Regions from separate parts of the Homo sapiens genome. Here regions 1, 2, 3 and 4 are each linked to region 5. The links are contacts of gene promoters, found by promoter capture Hi-C in human tissues and cell types (Jung and others, 2019). All regions are on one chromosome and are shown on one strand. Each heading gives the region's core, a stretch centred on a gene start or on the middle of the fragment in contact. The rest is flanking DNA. Distances are from core to core; before and after follow the strand shown. Region 1 has its middle 25 kb from the start of LDB1. Region 2 has its middle 26 kb from the start of LINC01514. Region 3 overlaps ARMH3 (armadillo like helical domain containing 3). Region 4 overlaps ARMH3 (armadillo like helical domain containing 3). Region 5 holds the start of FBXW4 (F-box and WD repeat domain containing 4).

Evidence for each region. The method cuts DNA at HindIII sites, captures the fragments that hold promoters and counts their contacts. A contact is called where the count stands out against the background at its distance.
Region 1: a contact is called between a fragment that was not itself captured here and the fragment with the promoter of FBXW4 in region 5, in 1 of the 25 tissues and cell types used here (adrenal gland).
Region 2: a fragment that was not itself captured here is called in contact with the fragment with the promoter of FBXW4 in region 5 in 1 of the 25 tissues and cell types used here (lymphoblastoid cells).
Region 3: a fragment that was not itself captured here is called in contact with the fragment with the promoter of FBXW4 in region 5 in 1 of the 25 tissues and cell types used here (bladder).
Region 4: a fragment that was not itself captured here is called in contact with the fragment with the promoter of FBXW4 in region 5 in 1 of the 25 tissues and cell types used here (dorsolateral prefrontal cortex).

Annotation. Positions count from the first base shown.
Region 1 is chr10:102,094,506-102,097,205 of GRCh38, forward strand. No RefSeq gene overlaps it. Among named protein-coding and RNA genes, the nearest start is that of LDB1, 25 kb to the right of the region's middle. The HindIII fragment of the contact is 4,424 bases long and covers 1-2,700 here.
Region 2 is chr10:101,200,668-101,203,367 of GRCh38, forward strand. No RefSeq gene overlaps it. Among named protein-coding and RNA genes, the nearest start is that of LINC01514, 26 kb to the left of the region's middle. The HindIII fragment of the contact is 6,715 bases long and covers 1-2,700 here.
Region 3 is chr10:101,994,715-101,997,414 of GRCh38, forward strand. ARMH3 (armadillo like helical domain containing 3) reads right to left here. Exons shown (of 26, transcript NM_024541.3): 16 at 583-641. Among named protein-coding and RNA genes, the nearest start is that of ARMH3, 60 kb to the right of the region's middle. The HindIII fragment of the contact is 3,121 bases long and covers 1-2,700 here.
Region 4 is chr10:102,014,345-102,017,044 of GRCh38, forward strand. The region is part of intron 8 of ARMH3 (armadillo like helical domain containing 3); the gene reads right to left. Among named protein-coding and RNA genes, the nearest start is that of ARMH3, 40 kb to the right of the region's middle. The HindIII fragment of the contact is 3,438 bases long and covers 1-2,700 here.
Region 5 is chr10:101,693,811-101,696,510 of GRCh38, forward strand. FBXW4 (F-box and WD repeat domain containing 4) reads right to left here and starts at 1,360. Exons shown (of 9, transcript NM_022039.4): 1 at 571-1,360. The coding sequence starts at 1,295. RefSeq lists an enhancer at 40-119 and silencers at 430-889, 1,170-1,219, 1,250-1,529. The HindIII fragment of the contact is 7,927 bases long and covers 1-2,700 here.

The sequences.
Region 1 (2,700 bases), core at 102-2,601, 400 kb after region 5:
TTTATTTGTTTTGTTTTTGAGACAGATTCTCACACCGTTGCTCAGGCTGAAGTGCAGTGGCACAATCTCAGCTCACTGCAACCTCTGTCCCGGGTTCAAGCGATCTCCAGTCTCAGCCCCCAAGTAGCTGGGATTACAAGCGCCTGCCACCATGTCCGGCTAATTTTTGTATTTTTTGTTGTTATTGTTGAGATGGAGTCTCGCTCTGTTGCCCAGGCTGGAGTGCAGTAACGTGATCTCAGCTCACCGCAACCTCTGCCTCCTGGGTTCAAGCGATTCTCCTGCCTCAGCCTCCCGAGTAGCTGGGATTACAGGTGTGTACCACCATGCCCAGCTATTTTTTTCTATTTTTACTAGAGACGGGGTTTCATCATATTGGCCAGGTTGGTCTTGAACTCCTGACCTCACGTGATCCGCCTGCCTCAGCCCCTCAAAAGGCTGGGACGACAGGCATGACCCACCATGCCTGGCTCCCATTTATTTATTGAGGGGCCTTTTAAAAAACAAAACAAAACCTATTTTGCATAAATTAATTATACAAAAATTATTTATTTATTTATTTTTAGGATCAGAGTCTTGCTATGCTGCCCAGGCTGGGCTCAAACTCCGAAGCTTTTTTTTCTTTTTCTTTTTTTGAGATAGAGTCTCGCTCTCACCCAGGCTGGAGTGCAGTGGCGCAATCTTGGCTCACTGCAAGCTCCGCCTCCCAGGTTCATGCCATTCTCCTGCCTCAGCCTCCTGAGTAGCTGGGACTACAGGCGCCCGCCACCGTGCCCGGCTAATTTTTTATATTTTTTAGTAGAGAAGGGGTTTCACCGTGTTAGCTAGGATAGTCTCGATCTTCTGACCTTGTGATCCGCCCGCCTCGTCCTCCCAAAGTGCTGGGATTACAGGTGTGAGCCACTGCGCCCGGCCTCAAACTCCGAAGCTTTATAAAGGGATCCTCCTGCCTCACCCTCCCCAGTAGCTTGGACTACAGGTGTCCCACACTGCACCCTACTTATACAAAAACATTTTAACTCTTTATCATATTTGCTGCAAATATATTTCTCAGCATATTGCTTTCTTGTTTGTTCTCTTTAGAGGTTTGGTTTCGTTTTTACTTATACATATATACACCAAAGTTGTAAATTTGTATGTAGTCAAACTGGTCATTCTTTCCTTTTTTTTTTTTTAATTGGGATAAAATTTACTCTCTTCCTTTTTGATTTCTTCTATAGTATTTAAGCTTGCAAGTTTATCACCCACACACATATTCCTACAAGGCTGATGAATACTATTTAATCTCATTTTCTTCTAACTTTATTTACTTACATTTAATTCTTTAATCTTGTTTTTCTTTTTTTTTTTTTTTCTTTTTTGATGGAGTCTTCTCTGTCACCCAGGCTGGAGTGCAGTGGCACTATCTCAGCTTACTACAACCTCAGCCTCCCAGGTCAAGCAATTCTCCTGCCTCAGCCTCCCGTAGCTGGGATTACAGGTACCTGCTACCACACCTGGCTAGTTTTTTTTTGTATTTTTAGTAGAGACAGGGTTTCACCATGTTGGCCAGGCTTGAACTCCTGACCTCAGGTTTTGAACTGCTGACCTCAGGTGATCCACCCACCTCGGCCTCCCAAAGTGCTGGGATTACAGGCGTGAGCCACCACACCCGGACTAATTCTTTAATCTTGTATTTGTTTTATTTTATAAGTTAGGATCTTTTTGTGTGGTTTGGTTTGGGTTTTCTACATTACTAGCAGCATGGACCTCATAGCCTCCTAATTAGTTTCCCCTCTCCAGTTCTACACACCACATCAAACTAACCTTATTTAAAAAAAATAAAAAAATTTAAAAAATAACAGATCTGAGTAGGTCACTTCTCTGTTGAAAAACTTTTGGTGGTTTTCCACTCTCTATAAAATTAAGTCTAAACTTCATTGGCCAGGCTGGTCTTGAACTCCTGACCTCAGGTGATCCACCCGCCTCGGCCTCCGAAAGTGCTGGGAGTACAGGTGTGAGCCACCACACCCGGCCCTTTCTCTCTTTTCTGGAAGGCAGGGACCAGCTCTTAAACATGACCTGCATTAGATCCTTTGGTGACAACCCATTACATTTGGATGAAATTCAAAATCCTTGCTGGCTCTGTGACCTTGGGCAAGCTGCTTGACCTCTCTGTTCCTTAGTTTCCTCCTAGGTAAATAAAATGGGAGACAGCTGGGCGTAGTAGTGCATGCCTTTAGTCCTAGCTATTTGAACGGCTGAGGCGTGAGAATCCTTTGAACCCAGGAGTTCATGGCTGAGATGAGATATGATAGCATCATTGCACTCCAGCCTGGGTGACAGTGAGACCCTGTCTCACAAAATATATAAATAAAAATAAAAAATAGGCCAGGCTAGCGGCCAGGTGCGGTGGCTCACGCCTGTAATCCCAGCACTTTGGGAGGCCGAGGCAGGCGGATCATGAGGTCAGGAGATTGAGACCATCCTGGCTAACACGGTGAAACCCCGTCTCTACTAAAAATACAAAGAAAAATTAGCCAGGTGTGGTGGTGGGCGCTTGTAGTCCCAGCTACTCGGGAGGCTGAGGCAGGAGAATGGCGTGAACCTGGGAGGTGGAGCTTGCAGTGAGCCAAGATCGCGCCACTGCAGCCCAGCCTGGGCGACAGAGTGAGACTCTGAATCAAAATAAATAAATAAATAAATAAAATAATAAAAAAT
Region 2 (2,700 bases), core at 158-2,657, 490 kb before region 5:
ACAGAGCACAGGCAGCTTGAAGGCTAAAAGTGGGAAAGACGGGATGTTTCCCATTCAATGTTGCTATGCTAAAATGAAAGGATGTCTGGCTTGTTAAAGCAGAGGCACATATATATACTACCTGTATTGAACAGGTGTTTGGGTGTTTGTCCCTTTCAAATCTCATGTTTAAATGTAATCCCCAGGCCGGGCATGGTGGCTCATGCCTGTAATCCCAGCACTTTGGGAGGCCGAGGCGGGCAGATCACTTGAGCTCAGGAGTTCAAGACCAGCCTGGCCAACATGGTGAAATCCCATCTACTAAAAATGTAAAAATTAGCCAGGCATGGTGGCTTTCATGCGCGCCCATGTGAAGAGACCACCAAACAGGCTTTGTGTGAGCAATAAAACTTTTAATCACCTGGGTGCAGGCGGGCTGAGTCTGAAAAGGGAGTCAGCGAAGGGAGACAGGGGTGGGGCCGTTTTATAAGATTTGGGTAGGTAAAGGAAAATTACAGTCAAAGGGGGTTTGCTCTCTGGCGGGCAGGAGTGGGGGTCGCAAAATGCTCAGTAGGGGAGTTTTTGAGCCAGGATGAGCCAGGAAAAGGACTTTCACAAGGTAATGTCATCACCTAAGGCAAGGACCGGCCATTTTCACTTATTTTTGTGGTGGAATGTCATCAGTTAAGGCAGGGCAGGGTATTTTCACTTCTTTTGTGATTCTTCAGTTACTTCAGGCCATCTGGGCGTATACATGCAAGTCACGGGGGATGCCACGGCTTGGCTTGGGCTCAGAGGCCTAACAGTGGCACACGCCTGTAGTCTCAGCTACTTGGGAGGTTGAGGCAGGAGAATTGCTTGAGCCCGGGAGGCAGAGGTTGCAGTGAGCCAAGATTGTGCCACTGCACTTTAGCCTGCGCAACAGAGCTAGACTCCATCTCAAAAAGTAAATGAATAAAAGTAAGTAAGTAAATGTAATCCCCAGTGTTGGAGGTGGGGCCTGGTGAGAGGTGTTTGGGTCATGGGGGCGGATCCTTCATGAATAGCTTGGTGCTGTCCTCACAATAATGAGTGAGTTCTCACTCTGAGTTCACGTGAGATCTGGTTGTTGAAAAGGGTATGGTGGCCAGGCACAGTGGCTCACATTTTTAATCCCAGCACTTTGGGAGGCCAAGGCAGGAGGATGACTTGAGCCTAGGAGTTTGAGACCAGCCTGGGCAACATGGCAAGACTCCGTCTCTGTAAAAAATGAAAAAATTACTGGTCATGGTGGTGTTAGCCTGTGGTCCCAGCTACTCAGGAGGCTGATGGGGGAGGATCACTTGAGTCTGGAAGGTGGAGACTGCAGTGAGGTATGACTGTGCCACTGTACTCCAGCCTGGGGACAGCCCTGTCTCAGAAAAAAAAAGGGGTGTGTGTGGCACCCACTCCGTCCCCCACTGACTTTCTCACCATGTGATAGGCCAGCCTCCTATTCTCCTTCTGCCGTGATTAGAAGCTTCCTGAGGCCTCACCAGAAGCTGAGCAGATATTGGTGCCATGCTTCTTGCACAGCCTGCAGAACCATGAACAATTAAATGTCTTTTCTTCATAAGTTACCCAGCCTCAGATATTTCTTTATATCAATACAAGAACAGACTAACACAAAGGGATAATTCAGAATTTAAAATGAATACAAAAAAAATACAAACAGTAAGCCTTCTTCATACCTGAGTAGTGTCTCCTCACACATTCAGCACAGCCCTGTTCCCTTCCCCAGCACTTTTTTTTTTTTTTTTTTGAGACAGAATGTCACTTTGTTGCCCAGGCTGGAGTGCAGTGGCACCATCACAGCTCACTGCAGCCTTGACTTCCTGGGCTCTAATCATCCTCCCACCTCAGCCTCCCAGGTAGCTGGGACTACAGGTGTGTGTGTGCCATCATGCCAAGCTAATTTTTTATTTTTTGTAGAGAAGAGGTCTCACCATGTTGCCCAGTCTGGTCTCCAGCTCTTGGGCTCAAGTCATCCTCCCACCTCTGCCTCACAAACTGCTGGGATTGCAGGTGTGAGCTGCCACACCTGGTTCCCCATCGCTCTAATCTAACACTAATGTTCTCCTTCAACTCGAGTAAAATACAATTTCCTGAATCATCCTGAGTGACCTCCAGTTGTCCTCACTGCTCATTACATGCTAATTATAATGCATTAGCATCCTAAAAGACACTCCCACCAGCACCATGACAGTTTACAAATGCCATGGCAATGTCTGGAAGTTACCCTATATGGTCTAAAAAGGAGAGGAACCCTCAGGTCCAGGAATTGCCCATCCCTTTCCAGGAAGACTCATGAATAATCCACCACTTGTTTAGCATATAATCAAGAAATAACCGTAAAAAACAGAAGCCCCCATCCTGGCTAACACGGTGAAACACCATCTCTACTAAAAAAATACAAAAAAAATAGCCAGGCGTGGTGGCAGGCGCCTGTAGTCCCAGCTACTCTGGAGGCTGAGGCAGGAGAATGGCTGAACCCGAGAGATGGAGTTTTCAGTGAGCCAAGATCGCACCACTGCACTCCAGCCTGGGCGACAGAGCGAGACTCGTCTCAAAAATAAAACAAAAAAACCAGAAGCCCTCAGGGCTGCTCTGCCTATGGAGTAACCATTCTCTTATTCTTTTACTTTCCTAATAAACTTGCTTTCACTTTCTGGATTCACCTCAAATTCTTTCTTGTGCAAGATC
Region 3 (2,700 bases), core at 76-2,575, 300 kb after region 5:
GGAAACCTGAGCTCCTTTTTTATTTTTTAAACTGCTCCACTGCCGAGCATGGTGGCTCACGCCTGTAATCCCAGCACTTTGGGAGGCCGAGGTGGGTGGATCACCTGAGGTCAGGAGTTTGACACCAGCCTGGCCAACATGGCAAAACCCCATCTCTACTAAAATTACAAAAATTAGCCGGGCAAGGTGGCACTGCCTGTAATCCCAGCTACTAGAGGGGCCGAGGCACGAGGATCGCTTGAACCTGGGAGGTGGAGGTTGCAGTGAGCCAAGATCATGCCACTGCACTCCAGCCTGGGCAACAGAGCGATACTCCGTCTCAAAACAAACAAACAAACAAACTGCTCCACAGTTTAAAAACACAGTGCTAAACAGCGTGGAAGCAGACAAGACCCTGTCTATCCATGGCTTCATCGAAGACTACACTCTAGTGGGAGAAGACAGATAATACAAAGGGGGAAGATTTTCTCTCCTAAACTTTAGGACCCTAAATGTCATGAGACAGTAATGGGGTGAGGGGAGGCAGGGAAAGATAGCACTTTGTAAAAGACTGCCTAATAGCAGAAGGCTCGTGAGACCTACCTCTGCAATACATGTAAGGATAATCAGACAGAGTTTGCCACTGTGAAGCCTGTGTTCATCTGTAAAGAAAAAAGAAACTCTTCTCTGTAAATCATCCAGATTTACATCATCTGTTTCAATACAGAACAAGGACGTATATCATAAAAGGAAACATTCACACTTTCTCTTCCCACAAAATCCATAAATGAAAATCAAGGTACTACTATAGTAATTCTTGCTTCCCTCCTAGGCAAAAGAATTCCCCCAGAAGATTTATTTTTTTAATATCCTGGTAGTCTGTTAAATGGCTAACCACCTTCCTGAAAGCCATCTAACTCACAATGGTTCCTACTGTCATGGCTCAAATAGTGGCCAGTACTCTCACATCAGCCCTTTGCTGATAGAACTTGAATAGTCAGGTCCATTTCCTTTTCCACCCACCCTCTCATCTGCCAGCTCTAAGCACCACCTACCACAAAATCTAGAAAGATTTCATGACTGCTCATAGCAAACTGGCAATGAAATCAAAAAGAAATTAACTGGAGACTAGGGTCCAGCCCACGCTTCTCCTTGCAATTGTATACTTATGCCCTAGAAAGCTGTGAACTCTTGATCATTTTTCTTCCTGTCAAAGTTACTCATTCAACAAATATTTACTTAGCACTACTATGTGGCAGGCACTGTGCAAGGCACTAGAGATATAGCACTGAATAAAACAGACAAAGGTCCCTGGTCTCTCACAACTCACATTCTAGTTATTAAAAAAGAAGAAGACAACCTCAGTAGCAGGGCTCTAAGCCCACACACAAAAGGACAAAAAAGAGCTAATCCATTACTGCCAAGTACGAGAACCCATCAAGCTTATGTTACTTTCCAGAAACTCTGTGGGTGAAGGAGTGAAAAGGAAGTAAGAAGAGGATCATGCCAGCATAGCCAAAACAGACAAATGGCTCATGATTTTCAAATTAGCTTCAACAGGACCCAGAATGAAGTCCAATCTAGAGAGAAGACCTCTTAATGGATTAGAGTGCTGTAGAAGTTAGCTATTACTATTTACCCTGACATTGACCTGCTTCTTTCTCAAAAATGGGATCTATCAATTAAAACCTGACAATTAGATGGCATAATGGGGATTACAATCCACAAATATACTCACATCTCCTCAGAGATAGGCAATGCAAAAAGAGTAATGGTGACAATCCCTATCTGACACTCCCTGGAGCTTCATCAAAGCCCCGATATAGCCAAAGAGTAATGCCCTTGCCTCCAGAAAACTAGATTCACAACTCTTCTACCCACCTTTAGCCAGTTTCTATGGCACTATCCTCCCACAAACTGATACGCAACTCCCACAGAAAAGCCTGCAGCTATCTCTCCACTTAAAATTTTTTTTAATTTTAAAATTAAAGTGTTTATGAATACAAAACTAGGCTTATTTCATTATAGACAGTCTTTTAAACTCTAAAAAAGCATATACACACAAAACAATGAAAATCAAATTTAATCATACCACCCAAATGTTATAACTGTTAAGACTTTGGTGAATCAACTTTAAGTCTATGCATAGATATACATGGTTTTTACAATTTTTTGCCTAGTATCTATTATAAAGGTTGAGCAGAAGCTTCTTTAAGGTGACACCACCAAAGTCAGAAAAATCCCAAGTAATAAAGGCTTTAAAAGCAGGGGAAAACCCAAGGGAATAGGGGCTGGGCTCAGTGGCTCACACCTCTAATCCCAGCACTTTGGGAGGCTGAGGTGGGATGATCACCTGAGGTCAGGAGTTGGAGACAAGCTTGGCCAACATGGTGAAACCCCTTCTCTACTAAAGATACAAAAATCAGCCAGGCGTGGTGGCATGCACCTGTAATCCCAGCTACTCAGGAGGCTGAGGCAAGAGAATCGCTTGAATCCACAAGGCAGAGGTTGCAGTGAGCCGAGAAGATCATGCCACTGCACTCCAGCCTGGGTGACAGAGTGAGACTCTGTCTCAAACAAACAAACAAAACCAAAGGAATGATAAATACAAAATTCTGGGCCACGCGTGGTGGCTCATGCCTGTAATCCCAGCACTTTGGGAGGCCGAGGCGGGTGGATCACAAGGTCAGGAGATCGAGACCATCCTGGCCAACATGGTGA
Region 4 (2,700 bases), core at 168-2,667, 320 kb after region 5:
AGTGCTCCACAACACTCATTTTGTCCTACCCTACCAATAATTTACTAAGTCCATACAGATAGCTGTCTTTTGGGGAACATAAAAGCTTCTTGCCATAAGGCACATATTTATAAGTTGCTAACTTATATTTTCATCCCAAAGGCTCCCTAACCATTTCACAAACTACATGCAAGGACTGATTCACCCACCCGTAAAGCAAAGCCACCTTGGGGTGGAAAGTGGCAGCTGCTTAACAGCCAGAGAGGTCATTTATGGAGATCTGATACCCAAATAACACTGCAGGGAGAACTGAAAAAAAGGATGTAATTACCCAAACAACAATCTGGTCAGGACACTGGAATTTAATGATTGTCCCATCACTTAGAGCACTGGAAGAGTTCTTGGGTTTTTCCAGACCCAATCTCAGTTGGGCAGCATAAATGGTCATATATTTAAACTCATAAAGCAACTGGATCATCTCCTACAAGGGGGATGAGAACCAATGACCTCTCCTTACACCTATGGGATGTGAGGAAAAATTTCATATAAATCAGGCACCAATTCTAATCCAAGAGAGGCAAGGAACAATAGTTCTCAGACTGGCAGTTTCTACAGCTACCAAAAAAACTCATAACTAAGAAACTTGAAAACCCAACTGAAAGGCTCATTCCCCACACAGACCTATTTAACCAAGCTTCTGAGGGCATCTTTCGCACGTCAACTGGGAACAGAGAAAGAGACAGCTTTGCTTTCTTAACAGCCCAAATGTTTATAAGGTTTAATGCAACACAACTTAAGGGGTAAAACCCACTCCATTTGTTACTTGATCTGACAGAAGGAAGGCTCTCAACATTTCTTCCTATAACCAACAGTCAAATTCTGCTGATTCTACAGACCTCAAGGAAGCTCCCATGCAAGTGGGTCCTTGGAAAAGAAAATCAAGCAAAATCGGCTGACTTAGATATGCTGCCATGATGAGAGTAACACTAGAAAGAGCAGACCACTATTTCTTGGCATAATTTTTGAAGGTTCTAGTCACCCAAAAGTAGACTGTTTAAGGTTTTGGGATTTTTTTTTTTTTTTTGAGACGGAATTTTGCTCTTGTTGCCCAGGCTGGAGTGCAATGGCATGATCTCAGCTCACCACAACCTCTGCCTCCCAGGTTCAAGCGATTCTCCTGCCTCAGCCTCCTGAGTAGCTGGGATTACAGGCATGTGCCACCACGCCCAGCTAATTTTGTATTTTTAGTAGAGACAGGGTTTCTCCATGTTGGTCAGGCTGGTCTCAAACTCCTGACCTCAGGTGGTCCGCCTGTCTCGGCCTCCCAAAGTGCTGGGAATACAGGCGTGAGCCACTGCACCCAGCCTGTTTTAGGTTTTAATTGGGGTCATCTGATTTCCAAGCAAACGTTTGCATTCTAGTTCTTCTGCTTATTAATTGTGACGAATTAGGCACATAAAGCTAAGTTTCTATTTCCTCATCTGTAAAATGAGGATATAGATTGAGTATCTCATCTAAAATGCTTTAGGGCTGGGCACGGTGGCTCATGCCTGTAATCCTAACGCTTTGGTAGGCCAAGGTGGGAGGATCACTTGAGCCCAGGAGTTCAAGACCAGCTTGGGCAACATGGCAAAACCCTATCTCTACAAAAAATTTAAAAAGCTAGCCAGGCATAGTGGCACACGCCTGTAGTCCCAGCTACTCGGAAGGATGAAGTGTGAGGATCACTTGAGTCCAGGAGGTCAAGGCTGCAGTGAGCTGTGATCACGTCCTTCCACTCCAGCCTGGGTAACAGAGTGAGACCCTGTCTCGATCAATCAATCAAACAAACATTTGGGATAGAAGTACTTAGGATTTTGGATTTTTTTTTAACATTTTGGAATATGTGCATTACACTTAGCTGTTAAGCATCCCTAATCCAAAAATCTGAAATACTCCAATGAGCACTTCCTTTGAGTGTCATGTTGGTATTCAAAAAGTTTCAGATTTGGGGGCATTTTGAATTTCAGATTTTCAGATAAGAAATGGTCAACCTGTATTTTTTCTCCTGGGGTTGCTAAAAGGCTTAAATGAAGTAAGACACATCAAATCCTTAGCACAATACCTGGTACATGCTAAAGGCTTAATAATTGGTACAGGTAGCTGTGTGTTTTCCTCTTTTACATTATTATCACATTCAAAGGAAAGCTCTTTAGGAAAAAGGCAGTGTGGGGAGAAAAGGAACAACTTAATTAGACATAACAAACAATGTGTTAATTTCTGAGAAATGTCATGCTCTAGGAAACAGTTGGGATCTGAGTCACTTCATCTCAGGAGACTTGGCCAGCCTAGAAAGCCAGGATCTTATGTTGTGAAAATTTCTATTTTACCAGAGGCCAATTATTTAAACTATACCACTGTTGTACTGGTCACTTTTTAAAACTGGAGGAAATCTACTTTTCATCCACAAGACAGAATTACAAAATCTTTGAGTCTTCACAGTATCACTCTACTAGGGTCCTGCCTTTATTTGATTGCAGGTACACTTAACGTTTTCCATTGCTCTTCCCTAGACCTTTTTTGGGGGCTCTTTTGTCTTTTTGGATGAAATGATTAAAATGGAACACATTACTTGAAGTGAGGAAGAACTACACATTTACTACATGGTATCTTTTCTATCACTTTTATTGCTTAAGTCCAACAACTTCTTCACTTTCTCTGTGCTTAGTTGGGTACCCAACC
Region 5 (2,700 bases), core at 110-2,609:
AGCAGGCCCCCTTTTTCGTGTCGCTCTGCCTATATGAAGTCATAAACTATGGCTGAACACTGGGACCGAGGGCTTCTCTTAAGGTCCGAGCCCTGAAGCTTAACAACCTTTAGAAAAGGGTAGGGAGGATGAAAGATGAAAGTCCACAAAAATTTATGATAGACCACTTAAGGAACCTGAGTCCTAGACCTGGACTCAAGGAATCGTCCAAAGCACCGTACCAGACTGGCTCCTCTGGGGCGAAGGAACCGGGGCAGCTAAACCTCTGCAAAAACACACAATCGAAAGCTGTAGGGAGTGCCTAAGATGGCTAATTGTGAGGAGCGGCCCACCCGGGAGGGTGCCTACTGAGGGATGCTCTCGGGAGGCTGCCTCAGATGGAGGCCTTGGGGAGGAGGGGCAAAGGGGTCCCCGAGAGTGCTCGGGAAAGGGTGTAGGCGGAGGTCAGGTGTAGGCCTAGAAACTCGGGGTGCGACACGACCCTGGGCCGACCAGGCCGCGGCGCCCCGCCCTTTCCCGGGACGCGGGGCCGGCTCGGGGCGGGGAGCGGGCGGGCGAGCGGACGCTTACAGGTCGGTGCCGAGCCGCGTGAAGCCGGAGTTGAGCGAGGCCCGGGCTATCCGGCGCCAGAGCAGATCGCAGCTGGTGAAGCGCCGCAGCCAGCGGCACACCTGGGCCAGGCGGCCGAGGGCCCGCATGTCCAGGTAGGAGCAGATGAGCAGCAGCAGCTCCTCCGGCAGGCGCCAGAGCGCAGGCCCCGCGGCCGGGCGGGCAGCCGACTCCCGAGCCGCCTCCTCCTCCTCCTCCTCCTCCCCGGCCGCCGCCGCCATGGCCACCCCTGTCCCCGCGATGTCGGCCCAAGCCTGACCCCCTCGTCCCTGTGCTCTTCCCGGCCTGGCGCCCTCCCGCCGCCTAGCCCTGACCCTCCATTCCTCCTTCTTCCCATACTCTCTTCCTTGTGCCTCCTTCCCGGCCCCTGCGCTCCCCTCGACTCCCTTGACGATGCCTCTCGCCCCTTCCTCCACGCTTCTGCCTCCCTCTGCTTCCTCCCTTGGGCATGCCCTCGCTCCCGCGTCAGCCCCCGGCCCGGCTGCCTCCTTCGCCGTCTGCGGCCCGGGCTTCCCTTCCGCCCCGCTTCCTCTTCCGCCTTGCCCCGCTCTCGCTTTTCCCTTCCCCTTCCCCTTCCTTCGCTTCCCCCTCGCCACCCTCCCTTCCTGCAGCTTCCTCGCCTCTCCGCCCTCGCCCTCGCCGGGCCCGCCGTTCCCGGGGGGCCCCGAGCGGCCCTGGCTGCCCATGAGCGGCCGCGGGGCCGGCCCGACGCGGAGCCCAGCCCGAGCCGCCACCGCCGCCGCCCCGGGAGGAGGCGACACCATGTCGGACCGGGTCACATGGGGCGGCGCGGGCCGAGCCCTGGGCACGCCCCTCACACCTGCAGCCTTGGAGCCACTTCGGGGTGCGGGCTGGGGCCGGGGCGCTGACACCACCCCCGCATCCCCGAGAGCGCTTGGTGGAAGCACAGGAGTTCGCGCTGCAAACACGTGAGGCCGGTTTCAGGGCCCTGCCTGAGGCCACAAGAGGACCCGCTGCCCTCAGGAAGCGGCCATTTGGAGCACCTGCCCTCAAGAAGCCCCTAGTTGGGTGGCCTTGCCCCTCTAGAAGCCCTCCTCTTCCTCGAGTGATGCCTCCTTTCCACGGGCCACATGTGAGGGCCCAACGAATCTGCAGCCCTAGAAGTTGACAGGTTCCATAGCTTAGGTTCTCACACAGGCCCGGAAGCACGGTCCTGGCGTGAGCTTGGGTGTTAGACGTATTTGGGGATTTGCAGTCTTCTAGATCCTGAGTCCATAACTTCAAAAACAGTCATGTATCAGGAAATGGCACAGCTAGGGCTTCTTATCAGTCACCACCCAAGTGCAAGTGGATTCTCCAAGGACTCAGCATCCATTCTTCATACCACCCATTCGATTCACATGGCATTAATCTGAAGGGAGAGCTACTGAGGTCTAGACCTGTGCTGTCCAACAGTGTCCTCCCTCGTCACATGTGGCTGCTGAGCATTTGAAATGTGGCTAATACAAATTGAAATGAGCTATAAGTGAGAAATGCACACCAGATTTTGAAGCCATACAAAAAAAAGAATGCAAAATATCTCATTAATAATTTTATATTGATTACGTGTTGAAGTGTTAATATTTTGGATACGCTGTATTGGGCTAAATACAATATATTTTAATGTAACTACTAGAAAATTTAAAATTATACATGGGACTTGCATTTGTGGCTCGGGTTATTTTTCTATTAGCATTGGGCTAGGCAGTAAAACTTGGAGGAGGGGAGGAAGATGCCAATTTCTGTCTGTTTATCCTGTACTCCAAATCCAGGTAGGAAGGATTGGAGAGTTTTCTTTTGTACTTATCTACATCTTAACACTCATTTTCAGGGAGCAGGGAAGAATAAAAATTGACCCTGAAAATTATTCAACACCTAGCATAGCCAAAGAGAAACCTAGGGAAGCAACTACATTGTATTATGGTGCTGCAAGAAGCATCATGTAACAAGGTCAGACCGGAATCTGGCTTTGCCCTAGAATTACTTTTTGATCTTAGCAAAACAACAACAAAAAGCCCCACCTATCTTGGCCTTTTAGTGTTCTCAATCTGTAGTGGAGATAATGCCTCTGCCTTACTTTCGAGGGATAAA